Regions from separate parts of the Homo sapiens genome. Here regions 2 and 3 are each linked to region 1. Evidence: promoter capture Hi-C in human tissues and cell types (Jung and others, 2019). All regions are on one chromosome and are shown on one strand. The core of a region is centred on a gene start or on the middle of the fragment in contact, and the rest is flanking DNA. Distances in the headings are between cores, read along the strand shown. Region 1 holds the start of ANKHD1 (ankyrin repeat and KH domain containing 1). Region 2 overlaps SLC35A4 (solute carrier family 35 member A4). Region 3 has its middle 7.7 kb from the start of CD14.

Region 1 (4,854 bases), core at 1,135-3,634:
ACTGTGTTCTAGCTTAATCTCTCACGTTTCACTGAAAGGATAAAATAAAGCCTTCCACAAGACCAAGAGCAGGGATACTCCAGAGTCTCTCCCCATAACTGCCTACTCAAATAAAACATTTCTCTCACCTTGGCTTAGAAGTTATTTCCCTTACCGTGAAATTCAAAGACGTAGACATTCAAGGGACTACCCGCCTTATAACCCACACACTTTTTTTTCCAAAGCAAAATGTTAGGGTCAGAATGTACTAAGGTTTTAAATATTAAATAAAACCCTGTTCAGACCTAGAATGATAAGACAGTATACTAACTGCAGTCTGTAACCCACAAATAATTTCTCCTTATTCCTCTCAAATCCAAGAGCCGGGATTGTTAGTACACACAGAGAAATTCCTGTACTTTAACACCAAGACCAGAGGTTAAAATAACTGGTCACAGGTGACAACTCAGGCACCTCAGAACCAAAATAGAAGAAATACTCTGAGCACTTAAAACAATCACGGTACAGTACTCTACGCAAGCCACAGTCAACAGAAAAAAGTATACACATAAAATACCGCCCCTTGGGATCACAAGGTCAGGAGATCGAGACCATCCTGGACATGGTGAAACCCTGTCTTTACTAAAAAATACAAAATATTAGCCGGGAGTGGTGGCACGCGCCTGTAGTCCCAGCTACTCAGGAGGCTAAGGCAGGGGAATCGCTTGAACCCAGGAGGCGGAGGTTGCAGTGTGCCGAGATCGCGCCACTGCACTCCAGCCTGGCGACAGAGCGAAACTCCATCTCAAAAAACAAAAACAAAACCCGCCCCTTTTTCCCCAGAACCCAAAAGAAGTTAATGCCTACCATCCCAGGTTGCTCAGACCTAAAAATGTGTACACATTAGAGTACACACAGAAGAGTTAAAGAAATGAAGGACTTCACTGCAAAGGCAGAGTGAAGGTGTCCAGCCGGGCACGGTGGCTCATACCTGTAATCCCAGCACTTTGGGAGGCCGAGGCGGGCGGATCACCTGAGGTCAGGAGTTCGAGACCAGCCTGACCAACATGGTGAAACCCCGTATCTAATAAAAATACAAAATTAGTCGGGCGTGGTGGCGCACGCCTGTAATCCCAGCTACTCGGGAGGCTGAGGCAGGAGAATCGCTTGAACCCGGGAGGCGGAGGTTGCAGTGAGCTGAGATCACGTGTATTCTAGCGTGGACAACAAGAGCGAAACTCCATCTCAAAAAAAAAAAAAAAAAAAAAAAAAAGAAGAGGTTTCCACAGGTTGCCCCACTTTCTCCAAGCCTAAAACCTCCGAGTTCAGCTACCCAGCTATTCCGAAGCTCAGGGATGCCCTGGAACTTCCTTTTCCTGTCTAACTTCACAAAAGGTCCCAGAAGGAGGAGTCACGTGATTTTTCAGGGTAAAAGCCGAGAGATCCCTAATACTCAAACCTGTCTCAAACTGAAGAGGGAGAATAAGAACCGTCCTTAAGCACACAGGTAAGACACACACAAGGCAGAAGGCAAATAAACGTATCCCTCAACTCTGAGGAGAGGCAAAGAAGAGAAACGATCTTTGCACCAGCTCTGTCTCTGTCTCTGTTTGTCTCTCTCAGTACCAAGGGCAGGGACTCTGGCAAGACCCCGCCCCCCACCCCCAACTCCAAAGCAGGGTGGGCGGGAGGCAGCCTGAGGAGTCCCTGTTCCCGCGCGAAGCTCAGAGACCAAAGGACTCCCTATTGTGGGTCTACGAATGGTGACGGGAACCTGTCCCGCTCGAGCTAAAGAGTAAGCCGAGGGCTCACTAGGCCCTCACCGCGGCCACCGCCGCCATGGAGCCGACCGCTGTCACAGAAGGGCTCCACCAGGGAAGCGGGAGGATGGCCCCGGCCCAGAGCCTACCCAAAGAGAATTCACGCCTCACAATGTGTGGGAGGCGAGGGTCCCGGAGCCTTACCTCGGACACTTCGTCCTCGTCACTGCCAGAGGCACCACCTCCACCCCCGGTCCTCAGCACGGCAGCCGCCAACTTGAAATCCAGCGCCGCGTCCCCTCCGCCCGTACCGCTGCCGCTGCCGCCGCCGCCGCTGCTGCCGACTCCCGACGCTGGCCCGGCCTCCCCAAAGAGCCTCACGGTGCGGATCCCCAGACCGACCCCTCCCGGCGGAGGCGGCTCCGAGGCCCCAGCTGGGGCGGATCGCGGAGCCACAGAGTCCAGGTCCTCCTCAAAGGAGGTGCCGCCGCCTCCGCTATCAGTCAGCATTGTTCGCACCCGGAGCCGGAGACGGTGCCGACCCACTCGCGGTCACCGCCGCCGCTGATCTCGGGAACGAGAAGAGCAGCAAGAGGAAGAAGCGTCTCCTTTCCCCCGTCCCAGCAGCGCCACTAACTTCTCACTGCCTAACCTGCTGCCTCCCGCCCCCTCGACTCGCCACTGGCTGCAATACCCTGGCGGCTGCAGATCATTGGCCAAAGTGACCCGTCGCTCAGGCTCTTCGTCACGCGCCGCTCGCTGGCTCGCAGCCGCCAAGCTGCGTTGACCCGCGCAGGCCTAGGCGGTTGCGAACACCCGCCTCCCACTCTTCACCAGCTGACTTCCGCTCTTTTCCTATGTCTATTGGCCAACCCGCCTGACTATCGCGTCACGACCTTAAAGTGGATTAGTTGGCCTTGTGGTCAGTCATAGTGACCCCGAACAATGGGAGAATTCATTGGCGCCATAAAGTGTCGGTCACTTTGTCGCGGGACGTCGCGTGGTACAATTGGCCTGTGGGAGTACCATTGATCCCGCCCTCATCTGAGGTGACGGGAAAGGGCCGGGAAATTTCCACTTCTGAATAAAATGACTGCTGAAGTGATGACCCGCAAGAATTGGTCAAATTTGGAGTAGACTTCACCCTGCGCTTGGTGAAACTTCTACGTCAAGGATGCAAGAGGCGCCGAAGTAACGCAGCTCCCACCTGTCGCTCTCCGCTGGGCGCCGAGACTATGGCCGGAGAATAGCTGCACCGGGATTGGAGAAAGGAAGCCATCAGTCTTAGGAAGGCTCCACCTTCCTGCCATTGCCTGGTTGGAGGAGCGTAGCGTCAGTCACTAGAGCAGTCACCACCTCTGGGACAGGTGAAGATGTGTAACCTATTTGCCGGGGGCTATTTGGGAGGGAATAGAGGACGGGGAGCGATGAGGGGACAGTCGAGGGGCAAGGCCGATCTCGCTTCGCGCCTCCCGCCTTTCTGAGTTGAGCCTAGCGCGCGGGTCTGAGGGACATCCGGGGAGCTGCTTGGGATGGCCGCCTTGGGGAGACTCGACCCGCCCGCCAGGACCCGGCCGCGCGCCGCAGTTCGGGCGCCTTCGGGCAGGATCGCCCAGCGGGGCCGCGTTCTCCTGCTTGCGGACGGCTGCGGGCCTGAGGGCTGGACAGCGCCATGCCTCAGTACCGGGAACTGTCCCACGTAGGAAGGTGGGAATGCCGCGAACGGCGTGCGGAATCCGACCTCAAGGTGGAACGGGGTGGTGAAGAGTGCATGCTCCGAGGCAGTTTCGAGTTCTGGTGCTGCCACTTACTTGCTGCCTGACTTCGGCGCGTTTGCTGTTTCATTTTTGTGACTTTCAACTCGCTCCTCTGTGAAATGGGAGTAATATTAGTACCTTCCTCATTGGGTTGTTGTTATGAATAAATTAGATGATAATATAGCGCTTAGCAAAGTCCCAAACTTACAGGAAAGACTCATTTTTGCTAGTTATTGTCTCCTCTTCCTTCAGGAACTCTCTGCTCGCCCCTGGGTCCTGCCAGCCCAACTAATTCTAGTTCTAATCAGATCTGTGTGGTGCAAAACAAGGCTAGCTGTGGTGGTCTTCCCTCCTCTAAGGAGATCTCTTCCTCCCTATATGCATCTCTCTATCTCTGTCTTTATCTTGTCAGTAAAGAGGGGGGTTAAAAATATTCAGATTCTATAGCGGGCGCCGTGGCTCACGCCTGTAATCCCAACACTATGGGATGTTGAGGCGGGCGGATCATTTGAACCCAGTAGTTCGAGCCCAGCCTAGGCAACATGGTGAAATCCCGTCTTTACCAAAAATACAAAAATTGGGCTCGGCGCGGTGACTCACGCCTGTTAATCCCAGCACTTTGGGAGGCCTAGGTGGGCGGATCATTTGAGGTTAGGAGTTCTAGACCAGCCTGGCCAACATGGCGAAACCCCGTCTATACTAAAAATACAAAAATTAGCCAGATGTGATGGTGCGTGCCTGTAATCCCAGCTACTCGGGAGGCTGAGGCAGGAGAATCACTTGAACCCAGGAGGCGAAGTTTGCAGTGAGCCAAGATCGTGCCACTGCACTCCAGGTTAGGCGACAGAGCAACACATCGTCTCAAAAAAAAAAAAAAAATTAGCCGAGCATGGTGGTGCATGCCTGTAATTCCAGCTACTCAGGAGGCTGAGGTGGGAGGGATCCCCTGAGCCTGGGAGATGGAGGTTGCAGTGAGCCGAGATCGTGCCACTGAACTCCAGCCTGAGCAACAGAGCGGTGCCCTGTCTAAAAAAATTAAAAAAATAAAAAAAAAACGGTTTCTATCTAATCCTTTAATCAGACATGACCAAAAAAGGAGTCTGGTGGTTTGTATGGAAAATATCCTTTGACCCAGAGAATGTCCATATGATAACAGAATTTGGCTGAAAAAAAAAAAAATGGCCGGGCGCAGTGGCTCACACCTGTAATCCCAGCACCTTGGGAGGCAGAGGTGAGCGGATCACGAGGTCAGGAGATGGAGACCATCCTGGCCAACATGGTGAAACCCCGTCTCTACTAAAAATACAAAAATTAGCCAAGTGTGGCGGCGCGTGCCTGTAATCCCAGCTACTCGGGTG
Region 2 (4,596 bases), core at 1,659-4,158, 170 kb before region 1:
ATTCCTGAAGGAGGTCAACAAAGATGAGTGAAGAACCTGAAGGCAGAGAGAATGACAGGCAAAGACTCAGAGGCAAGAAAGTGCTTGGTCCCCTTGAGGGAGTGCAAGTAGCTCAATTTATTGAAGAACAGAACTTGAGGAAGAGTCAGGAGAGAAGTATTGGAGAGGACAGCAGGGGCCAGGTCACACAGGGCTTTGCAAAACAGAGGTGTTTGGACTTTGTCTTAAAGGTCACAGGTGAGCCACAGAAGTATTTTAAGCAGGAAAGAGCACTGTGCCCTTTTCAGGTGAGCAAACTGAGGCTTAAAGAAAAGATGTGAGGCTGAGCGCGGTGGCTCATGCCTGTAATCCCAGCACTTTGGGAGGCCGAGGTGGGCGGATCACCTGAGGTCAGGAGTTTGAGACCAGCCTGGCCAACATGGAGAAACCCCATCTCTACTAAAAATACAAAAATTAGCCTGGTGTGGTGGCGCACGCTTGTAGTCCCAGCTACTCGGGTGGCTGAGGCAGAAGGATCACTTGAACCTGGGAGGCAGAGGTTGCAGTGAGCCGAGATCACGCCATTGGACTCCAGCCTGGGCAACAAGAGTGAAACTCCATCTCAAAAAAGAAAAGATGTGAGAGGGCTGGGCGCAGTGGCTCACGCCTGTAATCCCAACACTTGGGGAGGCTGAGATGGGCAGATCACCTGAGGCCAGGAGTTCGAGACCAGCCTGGCCAACATGGTGAAACCCCGTCCCTACTAAAAAATACAAAAATTAGCCAGGCATGGTGGCGCATGTCTGTAGTCCCAGCTACTCAGGAGGCTGAGGTGGGAGAGTCACTTGAACCCAGGAGGCGCAGGTTGAAGTGAGCTGAGATTGCACCACTGCACTCCAGCCTGGGTGACACAGCGAGACTCTGTCATAAAAAAGAAAAAGAAAAATAAAAGATGTGAGACCTGTGAGCCTGGGGTCACAGGCATAATCAGGAGCAGCAGAAGTATAATCACACTCAAGTCCTTAGACTCCTAATCTAGTGCTCTTTCATCTCCTTAGGCTGCATGGCCTTTCTGGTCTTCCATGATTTATCACAGGGTGGTTGAAACCCTGTCCCTGTCCAGCCTCTCCTGGCCTTTCTCTTCTTTTTTCATAGTTGCTTAGAACTTGTTTTTACAGCCTTGGGGCTTGGGAATCAGGCATGGTAGCTCCTATTTATTGAGCAAGTGCCTTACTGCCCAGTGCTTTCGGTGCAGTACTTCATTTCATTCTCTCCACAACTTTTATCAGCTCGATTTGATAGAGAAGCACATGGAGACTAGGCCAGTCACCTGCTCGAGGTCATTCAGCTAAGAAGAGGAGGGGCTGGGACCCTGATCTGTCTGATTTCCAAGCCCTGATCTTAACCTACACTGTACTGGGAGGAAAGGTGTGGAACGATCACTTCTAATATCTTCTCAGCAGGTGATAGAGTCACCAGTAAACCAGAGCCCATGCCTCGAGGGAGAGCCCCAAGGTGGGTCTGGGACTTGGGGATGAGCTGGGAGTGGGACGTCTTCCCTGCCTTTGGTGTGATTAATTACATTTTCCTCTAGTGGCAGGAAGAATGGCAACTCTAAGGCGTGGCTCCACCAAAAGAATCCTCTCAGGCACCCTAAGGAATAGGTAATACCTCATGTACCCCAGGAACGACTAGAAGCTGTAGGGGGAGTGAAGAGCTGCAGAGCCCAGCTAATGTGCCCCTGCTTACCCTGCCCCAATATCAGGGAGAAATATGAAGTTTTTGACAAATAAAGGACCTGAAGGTGACTAGACCCCTAAGGCAAGGCCATGGGGAGGGACTGTTTTCCTACTTATTGGATTAAGGGTATAGGATCCTTAGAGGCACTATGGCACCTCCTGGCAGAGCCACTACCTTCCTCTCCCCACCATGGCCTCCTGAGTCTCTGCCCAGGCTACAAGCTCTTCCAGGCTAGTTAGGTCCTGGATGTTGTTCTGGGAGCAGCCCTGGTGATGAGGTTCTATTGGAAAAGTTGGGCTCTGGTCCTAAATCCGTGCACACACATGAACTTCTGACCAAGCCCAGCAGATACCAGATGTGGCCCGGCCGCTCTTCTTGGCCCAGGCCCAGAGGCAGAGACTGAGGGAGCAGCACCAAATTTGGATTCGAGAGAAGCTGAAGCATTTGGAACAGAAGGAGGAGGTGGCAGATGACCAGGTCAAAGGCCTGGTGGCTGAAGAGGAGGTAAGGAGGGTCAAATAGGGGACTTGAGGCTCTAATTGGTCCAGGCACTGTGCTAGGGGCTAGGATCCATCATCAATCACAACCGACCAGTTCATACCCTCTCTCATGGCCCTCACAGCCTTGTCAGGGATAGATGAGGCAATTCTCAGTGCTAAGTGATGGGATGGGGGATCTAGGGTTGTGTGGGACCAAAAAGGCATATCTGACCCAGGCTGGAGTGGATCAGAGGAGATGGAATCTAAGTTGAGCCTCAAAGGACAGGCAGAGATCAGCCAGGGGAATTCACTGGACACTGAGCTTAACAAGGGCAGTTACTGCTCATCAGTAACTGATGGGGGGTGGGTGGAGTGGGGACATGTTCTTAGAGAAGACAAAACAGTATAAGCAAAAGTTCAGAGGGAAGCAATGGCAAAGTGGGTCTGGGAACTGCAAATTCTCCAGTCTGGCTGGAGCTGAACAGGTGCGTAGTCAGAAGCAAGGCTAAAGAGACAAGTGTGTGCCACAGCTCTGGCTTTGGACTTTACCCCAAGGAGAGCTGCAAACCATTGAAAGGCATGTGCCATGTCAGCTCTGACCTTTACTAGCCATGAGAATTTGGGCAAGTTAGGTCACTTCTTTGATCCACTGTTGCCAAATCTGTAAGATGGCAATGCCACATATGGTTGTTATTGGATAAAATAATACACCTGAAGTATTTAGCACAGAGCCTGGCACACAGGTGGCACTCCAAAGAGTATGTGTTATCACTGAAGGCCTGCGAGGAGAGGCAGAGATGGCAGCAGGAACAGATGGTGCTGAGATTCCAGCTGGAGGCCCTTCAGGAAGAGCGGAACACAGCAGAGCAGGACCTGGCAGCCCTCTATGACCTGCATGTGCAGGCCACCCGAGCTCAGACACACCATGTGCTGCCCATCAGTGGGGATGGAGGGTAGGCCTTGAGCTGGCTCCAAGGCTGGCTGAGTGACAGGCATCTCTGAATCTGGGCACAGGTATTCTGAGCCTGGCAGGGCCAGTGGGAGGAGGGGGCCATGACCACAGAGCATCATCACTGCAGCCTGCTGGCGGGCACCCTGGAAGAAACCATCAACCTGGCCACACAGAATCAGGAGCTCCAAGCTGAGAACCAGCAGCTTCAGCAGGGTGCAGACTAGGCTGGGGGTAGTCATGCTGGACCTGTCCTGGGGAGAAACCTTAACAGGAACCCTTTAGAGGAAGTTTCTTGTCTCCTCATTCTGGAGGGTCCTAGAAGGGAGAAAAAGGTGAGACAAAACCAAGCTGATCCTTATTATGGATAATTAATAACACAAACCATGTCTCATTGTTCCAGTCCTTACTAAGTGCCTAATATTATTTTATTTAGCCTCTCCAGCTACCACATATAGTAGGTACCATTTGATCCTTATTTCAGGGATAAGGCAACTAAAGCTAGGAGAGGTTAAATAACTGCCCAAGAACAGTCAGCTAAGTGGAAGATCCAGAATTCAAATTCAAGTCTGTCCATAGTTCTACACTGCACAGTAGTGGCTTACAAGCTTCTGTGTGCATCAGAACCACCTAGGGAGCTTAAGAGAAAGAAGAAAAAGATTCCCAAACACTACTCCCTAAGATTCTGCTTTAATAGGTCTAAGATAGGCCTAGGGCCCCCCCCCAACCCCCTTGGTTTTTTTTAGAAACTCACCACATATTCTATCATAGAATCAGGGCCTGACATTCCCCTGGCCATGATTTTAAGACAGATGACAGGCAGAAATTGTAAGGGAACCAGAGGAAATGAAAACCGAAACCACATCGGCTTTCTTAAGAGTTTTTTGGCCTAGAGTCTAGTTTGTCCTGCTCGGCCCAGCACCTGCTGTTCCCAAGACTCTCTCCGCATTCCCCTGGGCCCAAGTTTTGTGCTCCAGGGAAATTTCAAAAGCTCTATGACAGGGAAATGTCTCAGTTCCATGGAACTCTCACAGGAAATAATGCCACTGGCAACAGCTTGGAGAAAACAATTTTTTCTTAGTCTAAAAGTTATCCCAGAATTAAGATACTCAGGACCCCAGAGGAACAAAATTGTTTGAGGGGAGTTGCGCAGACAGAAGACACAAGACAATCATGGCTGTGGTTGTAGGAACCACCCTACAGCCTAGAAGACTTTATTAAGATCTTATTGCTTATGCAGTTAAAGAGACACTGATTGAGCTACAGGTTTCCTGTACCTGGTCTCAGGTCACTCTGTGCAGAGCTTCCCCAGGCTGTTGGGAGCTGGGAGACTGCTAGGCAGGGGCAGGCCCCAGAGTGGGAAGCATGGTACCTCCTAGGAGCCTCAGAGTGGGTAGCGGGCTTCAAGACAGCCCTCAGGGTGAACAGAGAGGTCAGGAGTGTCGGCTT
Region 3 (4,751 bases), core at 943-3,442, 220 kb before region 1:
AGGCTGGAGTGCAGTGGCAGAATCTTGACTCACTGCAACCTCTGCCTCCCAGGTTCAAGTGATTCTCCTGCCTCAGCCTCCTGAGTAGCTGGGACTACATGCGCCCGCCACCACACCTGGCTAATCTCAAAAAAAAAAAAGAAAAGAAAAATGTAAAAACTGGCAAATGAAAAAGCTTACAATAACTGGATCTTCTTCTGTCTGTCTATTTACATATGTTGTGTGTGTGTAATGTTTATATAAAAGAGCTCTAATTAATTGGCTTAAAGAAAAAGCACTTAAATATTTTGTCAGAAAAATTAAAACTTTAATGCCTTTTAGTTCATATGACTTTAGTAATCCTTGGGAAATAAAGACAGTTTTAAAGATTATTGGTAAAATAAAAATGTCTTCAAAATTTATACATTTGGTCTAAATTAGGCAGGTCAGACACTGAGTTTACTAAACTACATAAACTGCTTCCTTGATATGATCATTGTTCAACTTACCTGCTTTGGAACCATTAGATTCTAGGTAATGCCTAGAGACATGTGGAGTTAGCCATGCCCTCTAGCTATGCTGGAAAGATCAGACCTTATCTGCACTTCTGTCTGGTGTCCTAGGCTCCACACCTGGTACATAATTAAAATTGCTTACTTACCAGGTTTTTCACCAAAAAAAAAAAAAAGTTGCTGAGACGTAACATTGTAACATATGCAATTGAGACTAGTAGAGAAACAGTTTTACATGGAAAGTGCGTAAGGAAAGTGAATGTGTTTTTGGCAAAAGATTATAAGAAGGCACAGGAATGTGGATTTTTTTTTTGCCTAGTTTAGGGGGTTAAAGTATTATTTTAAGTTGGATAGGGAAAAGTAGAAGCTTTGAGCAAGTTGTGGCAGGTTTATGAAATATAAATTCTGTCTGTGGACATACTGGCTAAAGTTAAAGGGGTATTCAATTTTTCCATAAATTGAACATTGGAATAAAAGCACAATAGAGTTTTCTTAGAGCACTGATCTGCTCTTTAACAGTAAAATATAGGCTGGGCACTTTGGCTCATGCCTGTAATCCTAGCACTTTGGGAGGCCAAGGCAGGAGGATTGCCTGAGGTCAGGAGTTCAAGACCAGCCTGGGCAACATGGCAAAACCCCATCTCTACTAAACATACAAAAAATTAGCATGACATGGTGGCATGGTGGCAGAGGTGCAGCAAGCCAAGATCACAGAGTGAGACTCTGTTTCAAAAATAAAAATAAAAAAAGAAATGATAATAGATAGAGACACAAAGATTTGTGGCTGCTTAGAAGTGGGGTGGTCAAGGGGAATGACCTCTAATGGGATACAATGCCTGTAATCCCAGACACTTGGGAGGCTGAGCCAGGAGAATCACTTGAACCCAGGAGGCAGAAGTTACAGTAAGCTGAAAGCATGCCACTGCACTCCAGCCAGGGTGACAAAGTGAGATTCTGTCTTAAAAAATAAAGAAAAAATATATAAAGGGTAATAAAAGGTTTATGAGACTCTTACCTTATGGTCAAACTGATTAAAATTGGATATCTTTTTCTATAAGGTTTTATTAAGAATTGGGTTTGACATTAATAGTACACCATTGCATTCCAGCCTGGGTGATAGAGCAAGACTCCATCTCAAAAAAAAAAGAAGACTGGGCATAGGTTGCTTAGAGCCACTCACAGGTGGACAGTCCAGTAGGCAGTTAGCCATAGGGGCTAGAGCTTAGGGGACAGGTTTGGCCTGGCTATAAGAATTTGGGAGCCATCAGTGTAGAAATGCCTGTGGAAACCGTAGCCATGAATAGCCATGAGTAAGTTCACCCAGGCCAGGAGGGGAGAAAGAAGAGACCGTGCTAAAGAAGGAAACTGGGAATCATCAGTCAACATTTCAGGATGGAGAAAGCAGGGTCTTCAAAGGAGACAGAGAAATAGGAAGAGAACTTAGAACTTGAGACAGAGAACATAGGGAGACATGGTCAGCAACTCCCTATGCCTCCTCTACTGTCATCTCCACCTTGTAAACCAACATCACCCCCAACATATTCTAGCCATTCTTTCCTTTGCCTCTTGTTCTTCCCTCTGCCTGGAATGTTCTGGTCATTAATTTATTCATCCATTTAACAATTATTTATTGAGCTCCCACTACCTGACAAGCACTTTGGAAGTGCTGAGGACAAAGCACTTATAGTGAGCAAAGCGACAAAAGTTCCTGCTCTTAAAGTGTTCATATTGCAGTGGGGAGAAGAAAGTATAAAGTGCTAGATGATGGTAAGTGCTGTGGGGAAAATAGAGCTGAGCCAAAACAGTCAGGATTGCTGGGCATAAGGGTGAAGGATTGCAAGTTTATAGTTGTTAGAATAGACCTCACATGAGGTGACTTCTGAGCAAAGATTTAAGGGAGGTGAGAGAGTGAGCCTTGTAGTTATCTGCTGGAAGAGCAGTCCAGGAAGAGGAAACATCCAGTACAAAGGCCCTGGAAGACATTGGCAATGATATCAGAGAGATAGCAAGTGGCCTCAATTGTTGTTTAAGGCTCACAGGCCACTGTGAAGCTTGGTTTTCACTCAGGTGAAATAGAGAGCCACCTGAGGATACTGACAAAGGGTAACATAAACTGGTTTCCATTTTTAAAGGATCACATTAGCTGCTGTGTTGAAAGTAAACTATAGAGAGTAAGTTAGAAGACTCGTTGGGAATTTATACCAATAACCCAGTCAAGAAATGATGGAGGCCGGGTGCAGTGACTCACGCCTGTAATCCTGGCACTTTGGGAGGCCAAGGCGGATGTATTATGAGGTCAGGAGTTTGAGATCAGCCTGGCCAAGACGGTGAAACCCCGTTTCTACTAAAAATACGAAAATTAGCCAGGCGCGGTGCCAAGCGCCTGTAATCCCAGCTACTCAGGAGGCTGAGGCAGAAGAATCACTTGTACCTGGGAGGCAGAGGTTGCAGTGAGCCAAGATCATGCCACTGTACTCTAGCCTGGGCACAGAGCAGGACTCCATCTCAAAAAAAAAAAAAAAAGAAAGAAAGAAAGAAAGAAATGATGGTGAGGTTGGGTGCAGTGACTCATGCCTGTAATACCAGCATTTTGAGAGGCCAAAGTGGGTGGATCACTTGAGGTCAGGAGTTCGAGACCAGCCTGGCCAATATGGCAAAACCCTGTCTCTACTGAAAATACAAAAAAAAATTAGCCCCAGCTACTCGGGAGGCTGAGGTGCAAGAATCACTTGAACCTGGGAGGCAGAGGTGCAGCGAGCCAAGATCACAGAGTGAGACTCCGTTTCAAAAATAAAAATAAAAAAAGAAATGATGATAGATAGAGACACAAAGATTTGTGGTTGCTTAGAAGTGGGGTGGTCAAGGGGAATGACCTCTAATGGGATACAGAATTTCTTTTTGGGGTGATAAAAATGTTCTAAAATTAAAGCGCGGTTATAGTTACACAACTCTGGTAATATAATAAACACCACTAAATTGAATACTTTATTTATTTATTTATTTATTCATTTATTTTGAGATGGAGTCTCACTCTGTTACCCAGGCTGGAGTGCAAAGGTGTGATCTCGGCTCCTGCAACCTCCGCCTCCCAGGTTCAAGTGATTCTCCTGCTTCAGCCTCCTGAGTAGCTGGGATTACAGGCAGGCACCACCAGGCCTGGCTAATTTTTGTATTTTTAGTAGAGACGGGGTTTCACCATTTTGGTCAGGCTGGTCTCAAACTCCTGACCTCGTGATCTGCCCACCTCAGCCTCCCACAGTGCTGGGATTACAGGCATGAGTCACCACGCCAAGCCTAAATTAAATACTTTAAAAGGGTGAATTTTATTTGTTGTGAATCACAACTCAATATAAAGCTGTTTAAGAAAACCCACACAAAAACATGGTGACAGTTGGATCAGGATAGTAGAAGTGGGGGGAAATGGTCAAATTATGCGCATTTTTTGAAGACAGAGCTCACAGGATTTTTACATATAAAGGGTGGAACATGAGAAAGGGATGGCTGGGCAAGGTGGCTCATGCCTATAATCCCAGCACTTTGGGAGGCCAAGGCAGGAGGATCACTTGAGGTCAGGAGTTTGAGACTAGCCTGGGCAACATACTGAGACCCTCCATCTCTATTTTTTTAAAATGTTTTAAGTATAAAAATTCAACTAAATTTTTAAAAAAGAGAAAAAAGGTGGGCTCAGGGATGACTCTATGGTTTGAGGCCTAAGTTATAAGACTTGATGAAATCACTAAAGATGTGAGCATAGATACATTTCGCCCTGTGGCTTAAACTTAATTATTTGTCTTAAAACATGTTATTTTGTAACTTGAACTGTTGCGGGATTTTTAAGGAATCAGAGAGACCGATGGGGTTCAGGATGATATTTATTAATTATTTAGGTGCACTGGCCCAGTCAGATTAACATCCAAAGGACTGAGCCCTGAACAAAGAGTTAAGTTACCTTTTAAGCATTTTGTGGGGTGGGGGAGATCTGTACAGGGGGAAGCATGCTACAGAAGTGAGAAACAAAGACAGTTATTTAATTAATTGAGACATGCATTACATCATTTCTTACTTTTCAAGGAAAAACATGTTTTGCAACTTGAGTTTATCTGTCTAGTGACTTTGCAGCTGCACAGCTAGGGAAACAGGGTCTTCACAATGCCTGGGAAAGGAGGAGAGATAAGGCTCACTAGCCATAGAAAAATAGGCAGTTAGTTTTTAAAGGACTCCAGCTCTTTCTCTTTCTCAAGGGGAACTGGGTTTTCTTAC

What was found. Contacts are between HindIII fragments. The study calls those that stand out against the background at their distance.
Region 2: a contact is called between a fragment that was not itself captured here and the fragment with the promoter of ANKHD1 in region 1, in 1 of the 25 tissues and cell types used here (liver).
Region 3: a fragment that was not itself captured here is called in contact with the fragment with the promoter of ANKHD1 in region 1 in 1 of the 25 tissues and cell types used here (hippocampus).

The regions. Positions count from the first base shown.
Region 1 is chr5:140,399,363-140,404,216 of GRCh38, reverse strand. ANKHD1 (ankyrin repeat and KH domain containing 1) reads right to left here and starts at 2,384. Exons shown (of 34, transcript NM_017747.3): 1 at 1,944-2,384. The coding sequence starts at 2,249. ANKHD1-EIF4EBP3 (ANKHD1-EIF4EBP3 readthrough) reads right to left here and starts at 2,384. Exons shown (of 36, transcript NM_020690.6): 1 at 1,944-2,384. The coding sequence starts at 2,249. It overlaps ANKHD1-DT (ANKHD1 divergent transcript), which reads left to right and starts at 2,816. Exons shown (of 2, transcript NR_186045.1): 1 at 2,816-3,106. RefSeq lists enhancers at 2,181-3,070, 3,261-3,310, 3,401-3,550, 3,641-3,790. The HindIII fragment of the contact is 13,843 bases long and covers 1-4,854 here.
Region 2 is chr5:140,568,826-140,573,421 of GRCh38, reverse strand. SLC35A4 (solute carrier family 35 member A4) reads right to left here. Exons shown (of 3, transcript NM_080670.4): 3 at 4,322-4,596. It overlaps LOC131768270 (SLC35A4 upstream open reading frame protein), which reads right to left. Exons shown (of 3, transcript NM_001394034.2): 3 at 4,322-4,596. Among named protein-coding and RNA genes, the nearest start is that of SLC35A4, 6.3 kb to the right of the region's middle. RefSeq lists enhancers at 2,687-3,186, 3,187-3,688, 3,720-4,119. The HindIII fragment of the contact is 5,475 bases long and covers 171-4,596 here.
Region 3 is chr5:140,623,120-140,627,870 of GRCh38, reverse strand. It overlaps a transcript of TMCO6 not described here. Among named protein-coding and RNA genes, the nearest start is that of CD14, 7.7 kb to the left of the region's middle. The HindIII fragment of the contact is 3,350 bases long and covers 518-3,867 here.